2 separate regions of the Homo sapiens genome follow, and region 2 is linked to region 1. Evidence: promoter capture Hi-C in 16 types of primary human blood cells and fetal thymus (Javierre and others, 2016). All regions are on one chromosome and are shown on one strand. The core of a region is centred on a gene start or on the middle of the fragment in contact, and the rest is flanking DNA. Distances in the headings are between cores, read along the strand shown. Region 1 holds the start of LINC01124 (long intergenic non-protein coding RNA 1124). Region 2 overlaps MYO3B (myosin IIIB).

Region 1 (6,440 bases), core at 2,502-5,001:
ATAGTTGTGACCTGTCCCGAGAGTACCAACAAATAGAAAGCCACAGGGAATTCGTCAGGTAAAAACAAACTTGGAAGACAAACAGTCTCGGGTGAATCCTAAGGCCGCATGAGAAACTCAAATTGTGATTGGAAAATCTTGCCCTACCTCTTTACCACAAAACGGAATTGCCTGCCTTTGTCCATTCCTGAACCCAACACATTTGCCCAGATCCTTCCAAACCAAAGAAGCCTCCGACACAGGCAGACTATAGGAACCATCAAATTCCCGGGGAAACCCGACCGCTTAGTACAGCCACCCAGAAGAAGAAAAGATCAAATGAGACCGGCTCAACGGGGTCTTCCTGTAGTGACCCCTGAGTTAAAGTATTTATTTTCACGCTGCAACTGCTGATCACTTTACAGAGACATATCATGCTGTAGCTCTGCATGGAGCTGAAGACAAAAGCAACATTTTTATTAATGTTATAATTATTATAATTATCTTTAACAAAGCTATTAAATAACCTGTACAAAGCCCAAACCGGTCCTAGCGAAAACCCGAGCACTGTTTCAAATCTCCCAAGTTCCTTTCTATTCAGTTCAGCAGCATTTCCTATATACAAGGCCAGACCAGGGTGGTCCCCCGAAACTGTAGGTCTCCCTGACGGTGGGAACGGTTTAGAGTTTGGAACCGCCCTGGCGTACGGCAGAGCTCCCAATTACAATCCAAATGCCCCAGCCCCAACCCTACCTCCCCGCTCCTGGGAACTGGGTCCCTATGTCCGAAGGCAGCGGAAGTTGGAAGCCTGGCTCCATTTTGGGAGGCAGGCAACGGAGAGGGTCCGTCTGCTGAGTCTCCCCTCCGCCAGCTGCCCACAGGTCCCCGGATCTCTCGCAGAGGTGCTGGGAAGGGGGTCCACCTCCGGGAGGGCTCACAGGTCCCGCGCGTCCTCCCGCTTAACCCCGGCCTCAGCGACTTTGAGCTTCTTATTCTGGTGAGTCTTGACGTGCTTCGCGAGGTGGTCGCTGCGCATGAAGCGCTTGCCGCACTCGGGACAGGCAAAGCGCTTCTCGCCCGTGTGAGTCCGCAGGTGCCGCTGCAGCTCGTCCGAGCGCGTGAAGCTCTTCCCGCAGAAGAGCCAGTTGCACACGAAGGGTCGCTCGCCCGTGTGCCAGCGCAGGTGCGCCTTCAGGTGCGACGTCTTCCCGTACACCTTGCCGCAGCCCGGCACGTGGCACACGTGCTGCTTCTTCTTCCCCGGCTCCGCCTCGGGGGCGCCGCCCGCCGCCTGGCAGTTGGGACAGCGGCAGCGGCGGCACCTCCTGGCCGTGGCCGCCAGGGGGGCCTTGGTCTGCAGCAGCGCGGCGATCTGGCTCTGGTACTGCGCAAAGTCCGACGGGCCCAACACCAGGCCTCTTTGTAGGGCGGCGGCGGCCGCAGCAGCAGCGGCCGCAGAGGCGGGGAAGCGGGGCGCGTGGGGGGCCCCGGCACAGGCGCCGGAGAGGCCGCTTCCCGGAACCCCGGAGGCCCCCGGCCCGGCGCCCGCCTGCGGGATGCTCCACCACGGGAGGTCGTCGGGGGCCGGGTTGGGTGACAACTGGCGGCAGGTGGGCGGCGGGGGCGGTGGCGGCGGCGGAGGCAGCAGGTTGGAGTAGCCTGGCGGCAGCGCGGCCTGCGCCGCGTAGGGCACGTAGGCGGGCGCGCAGCTGGCGGGCAGAGCCGCCATGCTCGAGGGCAGCATCTTGACCGGCGAGAACTCGTAGGGGTACGAGGGGTCGGCGGGGGGTGTAAGGGGAAGCTCGTGCGCAGCCCCGAAGGACGGCTGCAGGTGCGTCTTCTGCGGCGTCAGCCCCAAGCTGGGATGCGGGGGCGGCAGTGCGCCTGGCGAGTGCGCCGGCATGTCGGCGGTCCACGGGTGGAAGAGCCTGGAGGGTGAGCCCAGCGCGGGGTCGTAGGGCACCTGCAGGAAGTCCGGGGGCGCCGCCGCGCCCGGCTGGCCGATGCGGCTACAGGTGGCGGCCAGCAATGCCAGGGGCGAGTGCTTGCCCAGGTCCGGGGAGGCGCTGGGGGTGCGGTCCTGCATAGGCGGCGAGGGAGGGCGGAGAAGAGACAAAAGGTTAGCTCCAAGCGCGGACTCCGGGCCAGCCCGCCGCCCCCACGCCCGCTATTATACCGCCGCCCCTCCTCCGTCCCGGCCGTCCCTCCCCCGCCACCGCACCCCACGCACGCACCCACCGGCCGAGGGAAACTTTTGGTGCCTGCGCTACCTGAACGTGGGGCCCGCGAGCGCTTCTTGCTAAACTACTTGGTGCACTGAGACGCCATCCAGCCTTAGAGGAAGCAGGCGCGAAGTGGGAGGGGGAGGCATCCGACGGGCCCCTCCCGGCTCCGTGGTCAGTAAGAGTCGGGAAACACCCACAACCCCGCCGGCCGGCCGCTCTCCCTCCCATCTTTTAAGCTCTCTTGTCCTCACTGCCTTCGCGCTCCTCCCTGGCCCGCCCCAGGCTGAAATCAGCAGGAGGGCCCAGCAGGGTGAGCTCCGGTCCTGTTCTCGGCCAGCCGGGCACCTCCGAACAATCCCGGATCCACGCGTCCCTCCAGCAAAGGCCACACCGGATTAGGTGTGAAGTTGGCGTGGGCACCCCTAGGCCTGGCTCCAGCTGCACCCATCGGCGGGGTTCCCTTTGAGGTTCAAGGTGCACGGAGTACCAGGAGAGATCCGGACACGGCCCTTTCCACCTTTCTCCCGCCCCCTCCGGGCTCGGCCCTGACCTGGAGAAAGGCCTGCAGCGAGTCGTTCCGGAGGACGGCCACCGCGGCCATGGCTACGGCTTGCAGGCCCCTGGCTGCGGAGCGGGACGCCGCCGCCGAGGCATGGACACCCGAAGGCGAGGACGAAGGGCCGCCCAGCCTGCCTCCCTGGCGCCTGCTCTGAGCGCCGGGGCCCTCCCCGCCCTTGCCCCTCGCCGCGCCCCGCTCGCTCGCCCCGCGCGCGGTCTGAGCGCTTCAGGATCACCTCCAAGAATTTGATAAGGACTTTGCTGGGCCGCCAGCCAGTCAGAGGGAAGATTTATGGCTTTGAAGTTTGCCGCTACCCAATCATCAAAGAATAGCGGCTCTTTCAGAAGCGAAAGCAAATCCTTTGAATCCACAAAGCTCCTATGGTGTGTTTGTTGGTCTGGATAAAAGAACTGATTATTAGGGGGGATGGGAAGGGAGGAGATAAAGGCGGGACAATTAATGAAGTAATCACTATGTGGGAAATGTATATACACAAATAATTGGATTTTCCTGATCAAAGGGGGCCTTGCCGCCTGGAGACCCGCGCTTGGGTTGCTCGAGACACTCTTCCCGCCCCCCCCAACATACACACACACACACACACACACACTTGCAATTAAAGATTTGCACCGACGCAGCGCCCAAAGTGACAAAGTGTCTTTGTTATCTCTGGAAAAATCTGCCTTCGGCTTCCAGGCGCCGGACTTTGAGACGGCAAAGAGTGTAACTCTCCCCTGTATTTACTTGCACACCCTGCACCCTCGCCGCACACGCACCCGCCCGCGCACACAGCGGACCCAAGCGAGATCCCCGGTGGGGCGTGGGACCGACAGCGCCCGGCCCGCCGCGTGTCCCCCGCCCGCCGCGGTGGGGCCGAGGGCAGGGCTGTGACCTGGGGCGGGGCCGGGCGGCCGCCCAGCGCGGCGTTGGGTGGCGCGCACGCTCCAGGGCCGCCCGCCTGACGAGCGACCGGGGCTCTCCTGTGACGTTCCTGCTGGCGACCTGGAAGTTTTCCTCAGGCCACAACTTTTGCAGAGTGGACCTGGGAAAAACACCCGCGCCGCGCATACCCTCAAAGCTGAGCTCGGCAGGACACCCAAGGCGACCCGTCATGCCCACCCGAGGGGAAGAAGCTGTGCTGTCCCGCCCCCTTCTCCCCAGGCCACCCAGGAGGCCCGGGCTGGGCTGTGGGGGGCCGAAAGCCCCAGCGCTGCTGGTGATTTCTCGCCCGGAGCCCCGCCAAGCCAGCGCGCCCTCTCGCAAGCCTGGCAGACCAGGAGCTACTGGAAAAAAGGCGCGGTCGAGGAAGCCTGGTTGTTGTGGTCCCACAAACCACAAATCATACGAGAGAGGATCCCGAAGGCGGGAGAAAAGTCAGTACAGACTTGTTCCTGCCACCTTTGGAAAGAAAAAGTTCCTCACCAGGCGCGGGGCGTGCTTTGCTCTGGGCAGGGTCGCGCTTGCAGGGGCTTGGGTGACCCCCATCCCTCCCTGGCGGCTCACCTCCTGCCGAGGAGGGCCACCTGCCTCCTCCTGGCCCAGGGCGCAGGGCGCGTCCTGCCCCGGCACTGCGGACGCGGGGATCGCCTCTCCCGGGCGCGCGGGCGGGGAAGGAGGAAGAGGCGGGCGGGGAACCGCGGGGTGCTCACCGCCCTGGGGCATTAGGGGTGCGGAACCGCGTTGGAGGCCTCGCGGCCCCGGCTCGCGAGAGCGCACTGCGGAGTGGCCGCCGGAGCTCGGCCTACTCCTCTCCCCCACCCACCTCCCGTCGGACACAGTCTCCACTCTCCAGGCCGCCGGCCGTGGGGGAGCCCCTAATCAGTTCGCGCCCGGCCTCTCTGCCCGTCTTCCTCACGGGAACCGCACTGCGACCGGGACGGACGGGGTGACCTATCTCCCGATGCAGCGTCAGAGGTTAGCCTAACTACAACGGACTCGGAATCTGGACTGTATAAGGATGCCCTCCGCACTTCCATCAGGGGTCGGGGATGCGATGCCTCCGGGCCCACCTTCTCCCACGCCCAGGGCGCGCCTGCGGAATGAGAATATCGTACTCAAGACGGGTGGGCTGCTTGCGACCCAAATACAATGGGTCCCTCGCACATCCTGCACTCGCACGCCCCCTTCTCCCCCAACGAGTTGTCCCCTCTAAAACGCGAGCGGCGACCACACAACTTGGCCGACCCGATCTGGCTTCTGAAGATGAGGTCGGCTGCTCTGGGAGCGGAGAAGGGGAGAGAGCTTAGTGGTTTCATCCGAGGCCTGGCCAACCTGCTCCTTCCCACGCTCCCGTCCAGGATTTGAGTCTTGGAGAAGCGTGAGACTCGAGGGAGCTCTTCCCTGGATGCAAGTCGGAGGCCAGGGAGCCCCTTGGCACACACTCGCGCCTGCACATGCTTGCACCCTCGAAGCGATCTGGTTCCTTAGCGCTGGTTTCCTTTCCAGCTTCTTTGAGATCTTCGAAGTCCCCTTTCCCAGGGAGGCGGGCAGGGCCGGGCTAAGCAGGATGGAAGGCAGCCCTTTTTATTGAATCTGATAGCTACTTTCCCAAAAAGGCCAGAAAAGCCATTTCACATCCCCATAGTTATGGGAATTAGCTTTTTCTCCAAGATGCCCCCATTAGCCAGTTAAACCATCAGTGGGCCAACAGGGTCAAAGTTAGTGGCTTGGTGGTTGAAAGCTCGGAGTCCGAACTCTCTGAAGACATTTTTCCCGCCTTGCCACTTTCTAGTTGGTGACCTTGGCAAGCAAGGTACTCAGCCGCTGTGTACCTCAGTTTTGCGGTTTGTAAAATGGGAGTTACAATAGTGCACCCCTTGTAGAGTGGCTATAGGTTTAAGAGTTAATATACGCAAGGTCTTTAGGACGGTGCTGAGCGTACAGAAGGCCCTCTCTTGAGTGGTCGCAGTTGGCTGCTCTCGGCCTCATCTCCGTTTGTGAAAACCCGTCCAGATTCCGGTCCTCCCAGGCCCCAGCTGAAGTTTGGAGAGAGGCTTTGCTGAATAGCTGTTTAGTCTCCCCCAACCCCCTTGGCCCTCGGAGCTCCTGGAAAAAGTTCTTAATGAAGTAATGTTGAGAGCGTCCATTAAAAATGCAATGCTGGGAGATCAAAGTACAATATTTATTTTAGAAATTTGTTGTAATCACCAAGAGATACAGGTATCAAGGCCAAATGTCAGTTCCATTACACAAAGCCCCGCGCCCGGGAAGAGCGTGTGGCTGCTCTGCCATAATGTAAAGAGACATCAAAGACCGAGCGCGCTGCAAAAGTGCGCAGCTGTGGGGGAGAGAGTAAGCCCGGGAGGGCCAGGCGCGCCCCAGACAGCGCGGGGGCTGCGGGGGCGGGGGTCAGTTCAAAGAGGTATCCGTTGGGGCGCGAGTTCACAGGAGGGAAGATTTAATGGGCTTTCTTTTGTTGGTGGGTGTGTTTGCGCACGGTGGACCCAGGAACTCCTATGTGGTCCTCCTGCCTCGGGGCGGAGATGGGGGTGGGGTGGGAGCTGCGAATGTGGAGCAAACTTTAACCGTGGCGGGGGGCGGGGAGGTTGAATACCAGTCTCCTGGCGGCGGCTGGCACAGCGGAGCTGCTCTCCAAGCAGCGGGGTTCCCAGGCTGGGAAGTTTGCATTGCCGTTTCTTTGCGGGCGGGCGGCGAGCGCCGACTGCATGCCACCTGCG
Region 2 (6,465 bases), core at 59-2,558, 150 kb after region 1:
AACTTTAGAATTCCACTAATAATTCTCCTTCTGTTTCTATTAAATATGAAAAATTGAGCAATGGCCAAGTAATTTTTTAAATCAAAAACAAATTAAGATGATGGAGCAATAAACACAGGATTCAATGTTTTTATTTTTTTCAAGAATTCTGAGGTTTTTTTTTAAAGGAATCAACTTTTTGTTGTTGTTGTTTAATGAAGAAGAAAAAGACTATAGCAACCTGCCTTGGCATTTTTGAGAAACCACAGGTCTATTCTTTTTATGTATTGCGTGTACATCTTCTAGCCCAAAGACTTTAATCATAGCACAAAATTTTCTTAAATAACTTTTGAGGGTCATCTGATGATTTATAGAGACATATCCCCCAAAGAGACATCTAACCAAAAAAGAGCAATCTACAAATACTTGAAGAACTACCACATGGGAAGAAAAATCCTTCGATCAAGCTTCCCAAACATAAAATTGATAGTCTTTACAATTAGTCAATTCCTCTCATTAGTACAAGAATTCTTAACCTGGGATACAGATCCTGATGGGAACATGAAGGTATTAAGGATTTTATGTGCAAAATGTTGCCGGTGTACATTTGTGCATTTTTCTAGAGTTAGGGTGCATGGATTCCATTAGCCTCCCACAGAGGCTTGTGATGTAAAAAGATGTGCAAAAGAATGTGGGAAATTAGCATGGATGACCATTTGTCAGACTGCTGAAGAAAAGATTGTCACTCTAAGGGCAATGTTTAGAATCCTCTGGGTACAGATAACTAGTAAGTAAAACCTTTATGCAGTATATGTTCAATCCTCTAATCATTCAGTGGTTATTCACAGGTTGTCCCTTCTGGTCATATGGGTTAATTTGCTCAGGGTGGTAGATGAGAGGGAGGCATCCATTCTAACTCTTCTTTTAAGGGGAGAGACAACATAATGGACTGTTTCCCAGTGCCCTCCCAGTGTTAAATAGAAACTGCTACATGACATGAATGGGGGTTCCATTAATGGACTGAATATGAGAATGTGGGTCTAGGGCAAAGAATAAGCAGCACACAAGAGAAGGGAGGTACCTTGCTTTCTTAATGGCAACCCAAGTTGAAAATCAGAAGGCAGAGTACAAGTGTGTTGTGAGCTGACTGCTCTGGACATGGGTAAATACAGCAGTGAAGGACAAAAAAGGAATGAACACTTTGTAATCTGACCCTCGGAGATTTAGAATGGATCCTTGGATGTTCTGTCCCCCGTCGGTACCCCCAGCATTCACCCAGGCTAATGAGTTAGCATGGAAACTGTGCTTTGGAGGACAAATCAGTTAAGAGCAGAAACAAATCTAGAGCTCTTTCCATTTATCTGATTTCTGCACAAATGCAGAGTTTGCCATTTACAGTGGGTGTGTATCCATTGGGAGAACCCAGCCATTGTGTCCTGGCATAAAAACGGCTCCTTTGAAATTAGGATAGTGTGTAAACTCATCCCCTAAGATCTTTGTAGATCTCTTGCAATTGTTTCTTGGACCCTGTTTGAATTTGCTCTTTTAAATGGGCTGCTTAGGGAAAATACTGGCACCAATTTAACAAAAAGGGATATCATTAATTTCTTCCTCTAAAAAGGAAGAATCCCTTTGGGAACACTGAGTCTTCACGTATATTAGGTCAGACAAACCAGCCTGGTGTCTGGGTAGACTGGCTGTTCTAATTGCTCACTGCTAAGCAGCCAAACAGACCTTTCTGGATGGTGACTTGGGGATCTGAGTCTGTGGGAGCTATAAATATTCCTGAAACCATTTAGGTGGATTAATGAAACAACTCCCTCCCATTACACAAACTGCCAGACACAGAAAATACCAACAAATTGGTCCCACTCAAATGCAGTAAAGATTCAAGGTGATATACTCTTGAGACTTGTGGTAGTATCGAGGGAAAACAAGTGTAGTTTTTTAGAAATTGTAGCGCACTCCAGAAGACTTGATAATTTGAGTGGAAAGAAGAAAGGAGTTGCTAAACTTGGAAATTAGGTACTTTCAAAAGTGATTCGCAATGGAAGAGTAAGAAATAGCAGTAGCAGCAGCTAAACTTTATTAGATGCTTACTATGTACCAGGCATTATTCTACATGTAGTAAGCTAATAATCTGGAGTCTTATTTTTGGATAAGTCCTGACCCAGAATCCCCTCAAAGCTTCCAGAGCATCACACACACACAGACAAACACACACACATTCTTAGGAACCCAGGAACACAGATCACAGAACAGGGAATTTTAGTGTAATAAAAACCTTAAATATCAGCAAAACACTGGAAAGAGGGGACAATGTGGGACCGGAGGAGTGAGTGTGGGGGTGATGGTGGTGGGCAGTGCTCAGGCAAAGCTCTAGTCTAGGATAGAGTGCATGATTTGAAAGTGGGAGGTCAGGAAGTCATTGTGAATTGTTCTTGGTAGGGAGAAAAATTACAGACTCATTTAATATCCAGTTTATGTTGAATTTCTCCCTCCCGTCATTATCCAAACTATATTTATAGTTTGTTTAATAAGAGATATATCTGTTCTTTTTAAAAAATTGCAAGTATTTTTAATCCAAATTCAACTGCAGTCCAAACTAAACAAAACACCTCTACCTAATGCCAATAATCCCCCAGGCATGGCTTTATGTGCCTTATTTTGCTCTCTGATCTTTTGGCCTAATTAGGATAGAGCCCTTGAAACCCTAAATTCTGACCAATGAATAAATAATCAAACAACTTGGATATAATGTAATAGACTTTACAGTCTACAGCCAAATATAGAGCTAACTGGTCAACCCCTTAAGGCTTCTATTTTCCCATTTATTTAAAGAACAAAGAGGAGAATACATTTAAGAAGCTAAAATGGCCATCCAATGAGCCCTTAAGAATAGCCTGTGCCAGAATGCTGATCCAGAGGTACTACTGACTCTATGTCTCCCTAAAGCCCAGCTCTGGGTTGGGTTCTAGCTCTGGGTTGGCCAACTAATATGCAGTCTTTTCATCTATAAAATGAGAGTTGAACAAAAGACCTTGAAAGCTTCTACAATCTTAAATCTGGATAGGTTAGGCCATATTAACTCTGTAGAAAACTTCCTCAAATAAAAATGAAATATTCCTATGAGTAACAAGAATAACTCCATGCAGCACCAAATTTTTGTTGAGTGCTTACTACATGTGAAGTAGTGTGTTAAGCACCTTACATCTATACCCTATGACGTAGGTACTGTTACTATTCCTATTTTGGAGATGAGGAAAGAGGGATATAGGGAGATTAAGTTAACTTGACCAAAGTCACAAAGCTATTAGAGTGGCATAGATGGGATGTAAATTTAAGTTTGACTGACTCCAAAGCCAGCTTTGCCACCCTGCCAAGGGTATGGGACCATCATCCATGAACATCTCTTCTTTGTAAGGGTTCCAAACTAGAAACAACCCAGATGCCCATCAACAGAAACATGAATGCATAAAGTGTGCTCTCATCCTAAAATGGGATACTATACAGTAACGAAAATATACAAGTGAATCTTTAAAATATAATGTTAAGGGAAAAAAGAGAAAAAGCTAGAAGTCAAAGAATATATGCTATGTGGTTCCAGCTGTGCAAAGTTTAAAAACAGGCAAAATTAAGCTATAATATTTAGAGACACATATTTAGGTGGTTACCTGTAGGATGCAGGAAGAGAGTCATAATCCTGAAAGGGCATGCTGATGGCTTCTGTGGCACTGGCAAGGACTGTTTTGTGATCTCGGTTGTGCTCACATGGTGCTTGCATTATAATAATTTATTATACTGTCCATTTTCGTTTTAAGCATTTTTTTTTTTTTGGAGACAGAGTCTCACTCTGTCTGTACCAGGCTGGAGTACAGTGGTACGATCTCAGCTCACCGCAAGCTCCGCCTCCCGGGTTCACACCATTCTCCTGCCTCAGCCTCCTGAGTAGCTGGGACCACAGGCGCCCGCCACCATGCTCGGCTAATTTTTTGTATTTGTAGTAGAGATGGGATTTCACCGTGTTAGCCAGGATGGTCTTGATCTCCTGACCTTGTGATCCGCCCGCCTTGGTCTCCCAAAGTGTTGGGATTACAGGCATGAGCCACGGTGTCTGGCCTCCGTTTTAAGAATTTTTTTTTTCTGTAAGCATGTTACATTTCAGAATTTTTTAAAAGGCAAAACCAAAAATAACCAAGGATGGGGGCTGGGGGTGCAAAACAAAATAAACAACCACCTTGATCTTGTATCTCTCACATGTGAGCTTCTCCCCGTGTGGAAAAAGAATGGGCAGACGGCTGGAAACATCTTTTCTGACTCTTCGCTGCAGGTCTGAGTTTTGGAGTAAGCTTATCTGAACCTTTCCTGGAGACCACATATCACCGTTGGAGCTCCCACAGCTCCTGTGCTCACCCCTATCAACACCCTAGTCAAAGCAGACTTGTTTTCAAATTTATTTGTCCATCTCTCTCAGAATATAAATTTCACAAGAGCAAGCCTGGCTCTTGCTCCCTGTATTATATCAAACATAGTGTCTGCCATTTAGTGGGTGCTCAAGTAACATCTGCTGGACAAATATCCTAATGAATGAGGAATAAAGGTATATTTTATTATCTCCCAGCCCTCTCTGAAATTTAAACCAACAAACTGATCTCTTGCTAAATACTGTTTTAGCAGACAACCTGAGTTTTTCTAGTTTTTCCAGGAGTTTTAGTAACTTAGCAAACATAAATAGCACTTTGGGAGGCAGAGGCGGGCGGATCACGAGGTCAGGAGATGGAGACCATCCTGGCTAACACAGTGAAACCCCATCTCTACTAAAAATACAAGAAATTAGCTGGGCATGGTGGTGGGCGCCTGTAGTCCCAGCAACTCCGGAAGCTGAGGCAGAAGAATGGCGTGAACCCAGGAGGCGGAGCTTGCAGTGAGCCGAGATCGTGCCACTGCACTCCAGCCTGGGCGACAGAGCGAGACTCCGTCTCAAAAAAAAATAAAAATAAAAATAAAAAACCCTGCAGACATACCCTTTGAACCTAAAAGAAAAGTTGGAAAGAAAAACAAAAAAAAACACGTATCTAACGTAGGACTGTATCCAAAATATACAAAGAACTCTTAAAACTCAAGAATAGGAAAACAAACAATGCAATTTTAAAATGGTCAAAAAATCTGAATAGATACCTCACCAAATAAGACGCACAGATGTCAAATAAGCATGTGAAAGAAATAAGCTGTGAAAAGATGCTTAATATCATGTTATCAGTGAATTGCAAATTAAAATAATGAGATGTGACTACACAACTATTAAAATGTCAAAATCTGGCCAGGTGCAGTGGCTCACGCCTGTAATCCCAGCACTTTGGGAGGCCAAGGCAGGTGGAGCACCTGAGGTCAGGAGTTCGAGACCAGCCTGGCTAACATGGTGAAACCCCGTTTCTACTGAAATACAAAAAATTAGCCAGACGTGGTGACACATGCCTGTAATCCCAGCTACTTGGGAAGCTGAGGCAGGAGAATCACTTGAGTCCGGGAGGCAGAAGTTGCAGTGAGCCAAGATCGTGCCATTGTACTCCAGCTTGGGCAACAAGAGCTAAACTCTGTCTCAAAAAAAAAAAAGTAAAAATCCAAGATACTGACGACCCCAAAGGCTGACAATGATGCAGAGCAACAGGAACTCTCACTCATTGCTGAAGGAAATGCAAAATGGTAAAGCCAGTTTGGAAGACAGTTTGGCAGTTTCTTGCAAAGCTAAACATACTCTTACCACACAATCCAGTAATCATGCTCCTAGGTATTAACTCAAATGAATTAAAAAGTTACATCCACACCAAAACCTGAACACAAATGTTTATGGTAGGTTCACTCATAATTGTCCAAACTTGGAAGCAACCAAGATATTAAGCTATCAAGCCATGACAAGACATGAAGGAATCTTTTTTTTTTTTTCTAGACAGAGTCTTGGTCTGTTGCCCAGGCTGGAGTTCAATGGCGTGATCTCGGCTCACTGCAACCTCTGCCTCCCAGGTTCAAGTGATTCTCCTGCCTCAGCCTCCTGAGTAGCTGGGATTACAGGCGTGTGCTATTACGCCCAGCTAATTTTTGTACTTTTAGTAGAGACAGTGTTTCGTCATGTTTCTCAGGCTGGTCTAGAACTCCTGACCTCAAGTGATCCACCTGTCTTGGCCTCCCAAAGTGCTGGGATTACAAGCATGAGCCACCACACCCAGCCGACATGGAGGAATCTTAAATGCATATTATTATTATTATTTTAGAGATAGGATCTTGCTCTACTGCCTAGGCTGGAGTGCAGTGGTACCATCATAGCTCACTGCACCCTCGACCTCCTGGGCTCAAGTGATCTTTCTACCTCAGCCTTCCATGTAGCTAGGAATATAGACATGCACCAAAACACTTGGCTAATATTTAAATTTTTTGTAGAGACAGGGTGTTGCTGTGTTGTCCAGGCTGGTCTTAAACTCTTGGCCTCAG

What was found. The method cuts DNA at HindIII sites, captures the fragments that hold promoters and counts their contacts. A CHiCAGO score of 5 or more calls a contact.
Region 2: a contact is called between a fragment that was not itself captured here and the fragment with the promoter of LINC01124 in region 1, in 1 of 17 cell types (non-activated CD4 T cells). The highest score is 5.8, in non-activated CD4 T cells.

What each region holds. Positions count from the first base shown.
Region 1 is chr2:170,711,878-170,718,317 of GRCh38, reverse strand. LINC01124 (long intergenic non-protein coding RNA 1124) reads left to right here and starts at 3,751. Exons shown (of 1, transcript NR_027433.1): 1 at 3,751-5,879. SP5 (Sp5 transcription factor) reads right to left here and starts at 2,981. Exons shown (of 2, transcript NM_001003845.3): 1 at 2,755-2,981; 2 at 240-2,059. The coding sequence starts at 2,805. The coding sequence ends at 914. The region is part of intron 5 of ERICH2-DT (ERICH2 divergent transcript); the gene reads left to right. LOC100130256 (a long non-coding RNA gene) reads left to right here and starts at 6,311. Exons shown (of 10, transcript NR_187629.1): 1 at 6,311-6,440. RefSeq lists enhancers at 1,030-1,819, 1,820-2,607, 2,608-3,397 and a silencer at 3,615-3,664. The HindIII fragment of the contact is 7,273 bases long and covers 1-6,440 here.
Region 2 is chr2:170,555,654-170,562,118 of GRCh38, reverse strand. The region is part of intron 32 of MYO3B (myosin IIIB); the gene reads right to left. Among named protein-coding and RNA genes, the nearest start is that of LINC01124, 160 kb to the left of the region's middle. The HindIII fragment of the contact is 1,720 bases long and covers 449-2,168 here.